Regions from separate parts of the Homo sapiens genome. Here regions 1 and 3 are each linked to region 2. The links are contacts of gene promoters, found by promoter capture Hi-C in blood cells and fetal thymus (Javierre and others, 2016). All regions are on one chromosome and are shown on one strand. The core of a region is centred on a gene start or on the middle of the fragment in contact, and the rest is flanking DNA. Distances in the headings are between cores, read along the strand shown.

Region 1 (3,119 bases), core at 104-2,603, 270 kb before region 2:
CGCGTGCCTGTTGCGAGTGTAAGTGTGTCTGACTGAGCAAGCCAGTGCATTCCGTTTGCAAGAGGGTCTGTGGGCCTCATGGGAGAGAGAGCAGTGGGCAGGATGATCTCATTTCATAGACTCCCAAGCAGTCTAGGAAGAGTCCCCCAACCTTCCCGGCAGCCCACTGGAGGGGAAGGAGCTCACCCCTGAGTGGGAGATCGGGAGGGGAGGGTCTTTGAGGACACCAGAGCCTGATGCCTTCATTTGTCTTCTCTCCTGTCCCTTGCCTGAGTCCTACCTCCAAGCTGTGTCACACTCCCAGGAATGTAAGTGTTTTGGGGAAGTCAAATAGGATTTCAGGACCACTTGAGGTACAGAAGTTAGAGATTTGCAGGTTGTCACCAACAGCATGCAGGACCCACACAGGCTTGGTGACATCACAAGGTGGCAAAAGGAGCAGCGCACACATTCGAAATAGGTGAGCTCTGGGCAGGGACCCCATGGCAGAGGGGACAGAGACGGGTGAGACATGCCCAGAGCCTGCAAGGGAAGATGTCACGAAGGCCAGAAACCAGAGCTGCAGTGACCGTCCCTGCCTGTCCCTCAGATGGGAGGCGCGCGGGGGATCTGCTGCTTCCCGGGGGGTAGCCCAGGGCGTCCCCTCCCTGCTTCTCTGTGGTGATGGCTGCTGGTTCCACAGTCCTCACAGAAACATGGCGGGGCAGGACTGTGGGACCCAGCCAGCGTCTGTGAGGGCTGCACTGGAGGGTCACCTGGTGTCCAGCCCCCGTTTGGGGACCCTCCCATACATGTGTTCTGGGGAGTTCCGATGGCAGGCATGGGGCGTGTGACCCAGTGCTAGCCGATCAGGACATCCAATGCCCACAGCCGCAGCAATGGGATCTGGGAGGGCTCAGGGCCCAAACTGGTCAAATCAGAGTGACCCCGAGGACTCAGGCTGAAGCGGCACCATTTCTCTGGACTCAGGCCTTGGTGAGCTGCAGCAGCCATCTCAGCGCCACGGAGGCCTAAGGACAAGGCTGGCATGGAGGAGAGGAGAGCCCCAGGATCCCACTTCGGGGGCTGTCTCTGGGACCTGATTCCAGTCTCCTGAAGTCAGCCTGCGGGCCTCGTTTCTGGGTGCCTAAACTACCTTGTAGCAGCAGAACTTAATAGATACTGGAGCTAGTAGCTTTGTTATGTATTTCCGGAAGCCCAGCAGAAACCCCACACTGACCTAAGTAAGAAGGTGATTCTCATGAACCAAGAGGACAGATCCTTCTGTTTGGGGTCAGGGTTTCAGCAGTCCAGTGTGGCAACACCAGTTGGGTGGCCCCTGCTGTGCAGCATCAGTTTCTTCTTGCTTAATTGGAACTGTTTTCCTGATAGACCATAGTTTTGGAGATGCAGGGACAGATGGAAGGGCAGGAGGGGAAGAGTTGCGCAAATCATAAAAGAAGCCGTGGTGAAGACAAGCTCAGGAGCTGCCAGCCTGAGTCCACCTTCTCCAGGGTCTCTTACAAGCTCTTTACAGACAGCCAGAGCCCGGGTGGGGTCAGCCAGCTGCCCCTCGCCACCCAGCTCCCAGCAGAAGGGGAGGGGATGCGGCTCCACCCATGCCCTCTCTTACCCCCATCTTCCCACTCACCTGTCGGGCTGAGGACCACGAAGGCAGAGACTCCATACATTCTGCTCCTTTTCGTGTTTCTGGCACTTTACACGCCGCCCTGCAGTGAATGTGTGAGTGAATGAATGAGTGAATGGCAATAAGGAAAGAGAGTGGTCAGCAAGGCGGCTGGAGGGGTGGAGGCCTGAGCGGGTGTGGGGCCAGCGGTGAGCCTGGCACGTGTCATCCTCTCTAGGGGAGGGAGGGTCTAAGCACATGGGTCTCCTGTGCCCAGAGTGGCCAGGGCCTAGGGGTGCAATGGATGTGGTCCAGCCATGGCAGGCCACCACGCTTGTTGGCACCGTGGGATAGGGCCACGCAGAAGCAGGGCAAGGTCTGACCCCCGCTCCTGACAGCTCCCACTGGCTGCTGATGGAGAGCAAAGCCACGGTCAGCGCCCACTGCTGGACGCTGCAGCAGGGATGGCAGCCAGGGGGGCCCCCAACAGCTTAGGGCTGCTCTGTCCCCCTGGAGAGGTCTCACTACAGCCCTTTCCTTTCCCCCGTCCCCACTCACTGGCTGCGGAAACCCAGCCTCATGAGTTCTGTTTGTCTGAAGAAGCATCGTTGGGAGGAAAAATTATCAAACTAAGCTCATGCTATCAGTCAGGCCCTCCTCCTACTCCGTATGTCTTTATTTTTTTACTGAAAAAAATAAAATACAGTAAGCACTCGGATGAGAATATTAATCCATGGAGATTGCCCCCTTCAGCATTCACTGTATGAGGCCTTTTTATATTTGCTTTTTTAAAAGAAAAAAATATATATATTTTTTGATGGCAAAAACCTGGACACACATATTTTTGTAAAAATCACACATGCTTGTTACAAATGCATTGAAACAGTGCAGAAAAGTACACAAATGTGTGTAAAGAAAATCACTGTCGTCCAGCCCTCCAGAAACGAACAACAGTAACAACGGGTGCACATCCTTCAAGACACGGATGCAAATAGAAGATTCAAAATATTTCGTAAAAATGGGATCCTCCTCTTGATGCTAATTTTAATCTTAATACTTAATAAATAATAGTGCATTAATAATTTTACTAGAAACTGAAGGAATTTCATTCCATTCAGAAATATATTTTGTCACACAATCAATATCATTTCCCAAAAGGTCTCTTTAACATTAGAAGTGTATGAAAAGCCAGGTGCGGTGGCTCCCGCCTGTAATCCCAGCACTTTGGGAGACCGGGGCGGGCAGATTATCTGAGGTCAGGAGTTCGAGATTAGCCTGACCAACATGGCGAAACCTCGTCTCTACTAAAAATACAAAAATTAGCTGGGCGTGGTGGCAGGTGCCTGTAATCCCAGCTGCTGGGGAGGCTGAGGCAGGAGAATCGCTTGAACCCAGGAGGTGGGGGTTGCAATGAGCTCTAATCACGCCACTGCACTCCAACCTGGGGGGACAGAGCGAGACTCTGTCTCAAAAAAAAAAGTAGTTTATGGAAAAACATTAAGTCTGAAGTCCT
Region 2 (3,111 bases), core at 378-2,877:
GTGCTGGGTTTTCTTTACTTCTTTTTCTCAGATATCTCATGCCCTAGTATGGCTTCCCCTTCTCCTAGGCCTGGGAGCAATGGCTTTAATAGTAACCACTGTATTTGCATTTTGGAGGACTGCTCCTAAGAGCTGTTTTTATTTAAAGAGTCCCAGCAATCAAATACAGATTGGCTGGCTAGCTCCCACGTTTCCACACAATTCCCTCCTACTTAAGCTCTCTATGTTTACACACAGGACATCTAACTGCTTGTTCTGGTCAAGGTACAGCTTTCCGGAGCTCTGAGAGACGGAAGAGAAAGGGTTGGTACGTTCTGCAGGTGAATGGTGGTCTGCTGAGAGAGAGACAGACAGAGAGACATAGTCCAAGGTAACAGGAAAGCTTCTGGCACTGGTGCCTGTGCAGTCAGTGGTGTCACTGCCAGGACAGGAAATAGAGGTAGAGCAGGTTTGGGGGAGGGGAAGAATGATAAGTTCAATTTGGGACCTTTATTCATTAGCTCCTTGGGCATTACTAGGTGGCAGGTACTGTGTCAGGAACAACTGTGAACAAAAGAAATAAGGTCCCTGCTCTCCTGAAGCTTACATTCCTGTATGGGAAGGACAACTTAAATAAATCAACAAACTAACTGCAGAAGCCCTGGTTCTATAGTCGTGTGACAGACTGCGCTGCAAAGGCGGCCAGGAAAGTCTCCATCTGGGGGAGACCTGGAGATTAGAAGATGTCAGGTTGAGTATGACAATGACCCAGTGACATAGGCTGAGAGAAGCAGTTTGGATATCTAGGTCTGGGCTGGAGATGATCAGAAAAGAAGCAAAAAGCATACTGCAAAATATACGCAGCATATACTACTACTTATAGGGAGATCAAAAATCCACATAATGATAATGATTATTAATTATTTGAGACAGAGTCTCGCTTTGTCGTCCAGGCTGGAGTGCAGTGGCAAGATCTTGGCTCACTGCAGCCCCCGCCTCCCGGGCTCAAGCGATTATCCAGCCTCAGCCACCCAAGTAGCTGGGATGACAGGGGTGCGCCGCCTCGTCCGGCTAACTTTTGTATTTCTAGTAGAGACACGGTTTCGCCGTCTTGGACAGGTTGGTCTGTAACTCCTGGCTTCAGGCGATCCGCCCGCCCGCCTCGGCCTCCCAAAGTGTTGAGATTGCAGGCGTGAGCCACCGTGAGGGCCTCACTGATTATCTAAGGCTGTTTAGATTATAGATTTTTAGATTATGTTTTTGTTTCCCTAAACGGGGTGGTGAGTACAGAGGTGTGAGATGTAACACGTAATTTGTACACCTTTTGCACACGTAAATATCACAAAGTAAACTTTTAAAATAAGGCAAGGCCTAGGGCCTCGCGAGGCTTCTCTGAGGAGCGAGGACCAGTCAGTCACAGCCAGTTTCCACTGCCTCCACGCTCCGGCCTAGGCCAGCCCCTCTCCCCAGTCATTCGCTCGGGGCTGGCTCCGCCCCAGAACTGCGCAACCTCCCCGCCCACATCCGCGTCCTAACCAATGAGCGCTCGAAATTTGGGTCCACACCCCCGTCACGCCCCGCCCCAGACTCGCGCGCCCGTGACGTCACGGTCCGGCCCCCGCCACGTGACGGCCGCGCGCCGGGCTCTAGCTCCCCGCCGGGCTCGCGCCGCAGAGGCCGGTGAGGCGCCGGCGGCCACGCCGCGGAAGGCGCGGGCCGAGCAGAGCCGGGCGTTGGAGCCCGCGCGCGCATGGAGGCGTTGCCGGCAGCCCCCTGAGGGCAGCGGGGAGACAAGACCCGGCGACCTCGCGCATCCCTCGAGCCGCCACGCGCTCTCGCCACCGGGCGGCGACGGGCCGCGGAGCCGGCGCGGCCATGGCGACGGGCGGCCAGCAGAAGGAGAACACGCTGCTTCACCTCTTCGCCGGCGGGTGAGTTCCCGGGCCCAGCCGCGCGCGCCCCACCGCCTGCGGTCCCCTCGGCCTTCGCCCCGGGCGCGGCCCCAGCCTCCCGCGGCGGTTACCGGCCTTCCCCGGGCTACGGCGCCGGCGCTCGGGAGGAGGAAGTCCCGGCGTCGGGGACTGGTGGGCAGGGCCGAGGGAGGGGGTCGGGCCTTCCTCACCCCTACGTCCTGACCGCAGCCCCGAGGGCGGCTGTGCCCCGCCGCCCGTCCTCCCCGCGGCGTCCCCAGCTTTTCCCCATTCTGAAGAGTCAGTGGCCGGTGAGTGGTGCTCGGCGGCGGTCCAGCCTGGACGCTGTGGCGCGGCCCCCCCTCCCCCGCCCCCTTCTCCTGGGGCCTCTCCCGAAGCGCAGCGCCTCAGAGCCCGTGGTAGGATCGCTGATGCTCGGGTGTGCCCGAGGTTCCTCAGGGCAGCGCGGGAGGTCATCCGGACGGGCAAAAAGGTCTGCGGACGTTGGACGTCAGCAAGGCCTGGGTGGTGCTGGTGAACGGTGATGCTTGCGGCCACACGCGGGGTGGCTAAGCCAGGGACCCGAACTCATATGAGGTCTGGAAGGTGTGTTGAGACACTTCTCGCCGGCTGGTAGACGCTTCCAACGCCAGAGACCGCAGAATTGTAAGGTGTTCCTTGTTTTGAAAGCTGCATTAGGTCTATGGTCAGGCACCTTTTTTCCAGCGGAGACAATGCATTTTTAGGAGGTTGAGTTCTGCGGTTAGGAAGGGAGATGGTACCCCTCGCCACCTCCCCTTGTCACCTCCCGCCGAGAATAGAAGGTAAAATATTTTTGAGTATTAGTAATTTTCTTTTTTCCTTTATCACAGCCGGTGGCTTGGGGTCCTTTCGGAGTCTTACAGATATTTGGAGTATTAATTTGAGGACCTCATCGGCCTGGCACAGGAATTTTTGAGTGTAGGATATTTTGCATAAAATAGTTTATTCTGGGATGATCATCTTGGCTTGAGTAGTTGCAGCCTGGATTCCTACCTGGATATGTTCCTTACAACAAACAATGGTTGAGAAACTTATCTTGGAAGATGACTGATGAAAGCGTCCCTGAGCTTTTTTTGTACTTGTATTGTGGGCAGTCACCAGGTTACTTTAACCAAAAACTTCGGTGGGTCTTCATAGATTGGAAGAGTTTCTCATTCATCTCTTCCCTGTCATTCATTCC
Region 3 (3,066 bases), core at 264-2,763, 290 kb before region 2:
CTGAGCAGCACAGCTGGCGGGCACAGCCATGGCCCCCCTGCTTTGTCATCCTCTGACCTTGGACGAGCTCTGGATGTGCACAGGTGGGAGCCAAGTTTACAGGGGGTCTTTCCTCCCAGTGTCCACCCTGGTTGTGCTTTTCTCTATCCTTTTCATATACTGATGGGTTTCAACCCTCAACTTTCAACCCGGGAAAATACACTAGGAGCCAATATAGATCATTTTTAGGAGAAATCAGTCCACAATAACGGGCAGTAACTAGAAAAGATCAACATCAGCAGGAGGGCCAGCCCCTCGCCTCCTGTCCTTGCACTCAGCTGCATGGCCTCTTCCCAGGGAGGTGCCAGGCCACAGTCCCAGTCACTGCATTAAACTCTGAAAAGACGGAGCCAACCAGGCAAAGTCCATAAATCTACAGGCCGTGTTAAACACAGGCGCACCCCCTGAAGCTTGAAATTAAGGAATAAAGGAAGCTCTCTTTTACCCAGCAGGTAGTAAACCCGTGGAATGCATTCTTTTTGAGAATTGAGAGAGGATAAAAATAGGAAAGGGGCCGCTTAGGGATTCGCTACATTAATGAATAGTAAGCAGATAACAGGGCTTTTAGGGACTCTGTTGTGTTCCCTTCATCAAAAATTCATCTGTTTTTAAAGCTTTAAGTATGCTGTTGACATATAAATCCACTGTAATTCATTGATTGGAAGACATTTTTTTCATATTTGGACGTCTCTGAAGTTGGGTTTATCCTTAATAGGGTGACATAGTGGAACTGGAAACCCTTTTCTTTCTTAGGGGTTATAAAACAGCGATGCTTCCGCCACTGATGGCATTTCAGGTTTGATGAAATCCAGTTTATCTCCAGTGTGCGTTGTCTCCCCAGGCCCTAGTTTATACCTCCAGCCGCCTTTTAGATCATTTCATGGGGTGTTGCACCATCCCTTCAGATTCAGCAGATTTAGAATGAAAACCATCACTGCATTTTTCTCATGAAATACCAACTGTGTTTTCTAACCTCTTTATTTCAAATGGGAACAGTGCTCTCTGAGTGACCAGGCTGGTAGCCCTTCTCTTACAGCATCTGTCATAAGAAAAATTCCAACCAGTCTTTATCAGTGTTTCCTGTGTGCTAGCCACTGTTCCAAGCCCTGTGTGGATATTAACTCCTTCAGGCCCACAGAAGCCCTGTAAGGGAGGTGCGGGGATTGTTGCTTGTTCGTATGTGAGGTGATGTCAGTTGCTGGAGATCACAGGGCTGAAAGATGGCAGAGCCGGTATTTAAACCGGGGCAGGCTGGGCACGGGGGCTTATACCTGTAATCCCAGCACTTTGGGAGGCCGAGACGGGTGGATCACTTGAGGTCAGGCGTTCAAGACCAGCCTGGTCAAATGGTGAAACCCCATCTCCACTAAAAATACAAAAATTATCCAGGCATGGTAGTTTGTGCCTGTAATCCCAGCTACTCGGGAGGCTGAGGCAGGAGAATTGCTTGAACCCAGGAGGCGAAGGTTACAGTGAGCCAAGATCGCGCCACTGCACTGCAGCCTGGGTAATGGGGAGACTCCATCTCCAATAAAATAAAACAAAATAAGATAAGATAAAATAAGATAAAATAAACTGGAGCAGCCTGGCTCCAGAGACCACACTCCAGATCACAGCTCTGTACCACCATTCAAGGATCCAGCCAGTCACCAAGTAGTTTGTATTCATCTGCTATAATAACTTCTTTGCAGTTCACTGTGACTTCGTTCCCTCCTACCTTTGTTACTTCCTTTGATGGCAGCAAAGGCTGCCTCACTGATTTCACTACCACCAGTCCCATCCTGTTCATCTTGGAGGTCGCAGACAGCTTCATCTTCCTGAAGTACCTCTTTCGTGCTTCTGCTTCCCTGTTCTAAAACCTTTTTTAAAAAGTTTTATTGAGCTGTAACTCACAAATCCTACTACACTTTACCCAGTTAAGGTGGACAGGCCAGTGAGCTTTCGTGTATTCACAGAGTTGTGTGTCAGTACCACAATCAATTTTAGGACATGTTCATCACGGCAAAGGAAGCCCTGTACCCCTTCGTTGTCATCCCACAATTTCCCCCTCTCCCCAGCTCCTGGCAACCACAGAAATGCATTCTCTCTGCGGGGTTGCCTGTTCTGGATATTTTGTACATATAGGATCATACGGTGTGTGGTTTCCATCAGTTAGCATCCTGAGTTCAGAGTTCACCCATGTTCTAGCATGTACCAGCACTTCATTTCTTTTTACTGCTGAATAATATCTTATTGTATAGATATACCATAATTTATCCAGTCACCAGTTAGTGGACATTTGGGTTGCCTCTACTTTTTGGCTGTTATATATAATGCTGCAATGAGCATTCATGTACAAGCTTTTGTGTGGACCTGCATTTTTATTTCTCTTGAGTATAAACCCAGGAGTGGGGTTGCTGGAGGATCATGACTCTGTTTAACTGTTTGAGGCCAATAACTCTTATTTATTTATTTATTTTTTATTTTTTATTTTTGGAGACAGGGTCTTTATCTGTCGCCCTGGCTGGAGTGCAGTGGTGCAATCATAGCCCACTGCAGCCTCGACCTCCTAGGCTTAAGTGATCCTCCCACCTCAGCCTCCCAAGTAGCTGGGACCACAGGTGTATTTCACCATGCCCAGCTAATTTTTGTATTTTTTGTAGAGATGGGGTTTTGCCATGTTGCCTAGGCTGGTCTTGAACTCCTGGACTCAGGAGATCTGCCCACCTCAGCCTCCCAAAGTGCTGGGATTACAAGCATAAGCCACTGTGCCAGGCCTTAGGTCCCTTTCAAATGCAAGATATTCCTGATTTTCCTGTTCTATTATTGCAGGGGAAGGGAAGAATTGTCTTTTTACATTCTCCCGAAAAGGAGAATTGGAAGATTTGGTCACCCTGGGCCCACACTCCTGTGAGGCACCACCTGAATGCACCTGAGGTACTTAACTGTACCTCTGAGGGACACCAGCCTTACTCCATCCTTTTCGCTTTTGCTGGCCCCGGTAGGCATTGGAATCTCTGAGCTTTGCCCTAGACCCCTCCTTCCAGA

The links. Contacts are between HindIII fragments. The CHiCAGO score rates a contact against its expected background, and 5 or more counts as called.
Region 1: a contact is called between a fragment that was not itself captured here and the fragment with the promoter of SLC25A33 in region 2, in 2 of 17 cell types (fetal thymus and erythroblasts). The highest score is 7.1, in fetal thymus.
Region 3: a fragment that was not itself captured here is called in contact with the fragment with the promoter of SLC25A33 in region 2 in 3 of 17 cell types (endothelial precursors, fetal thymus and megakaryocytes); the score reaches 6.9 in endothelial precursors.

The regions. Positions count from the first base shown.
Region 1 is chr1:9,271,462-9,274,580 of GRCh38, forward strand. No RefSeq gene overlaps it. Among named protein-coding and RNA genes, the nearest start is that of SPSB1, 20 kb to the right of the region's middle. The HindIII fragment of the contact is 8,208 bases long and covers 1-3,119 here.
Region 2 is chr1:9,537,838-9,540,948 of GRCh38, forward strand. It overlaps SLC25A33 (solute carrier family 25 member 33), which reads left to right and starts at 1,628. Exons shown (of 7, transcript NM_032315.3): 1 at 1,628-1,910. The coding sequence starts at 1,855. RefSeq lists silencers at 1,384-1,903, 1,924-2,283 and enhancers at 1,393-1,687, 2,354-2,483. The HindIII fragment of the contact is 15,144 bases long and covers 580-3,111 here.
Region 3 is chr1:9,252,786-9,255,851 of GRCh38, forward strand. The region is part of intron 3 of H6PD (hexose-6-phosphate dehydrogenase/glucose 1-dehydrogenase); the gene reads left to right. Among named protein-coding and RNA genes, the nearest start is that of H6PD, 20 kb to the left of the region's middle. RefSeq lists an enhancer at 1-241. The HindIII fragment of the contact is 1,725 bases long and covers 652-2,376 here.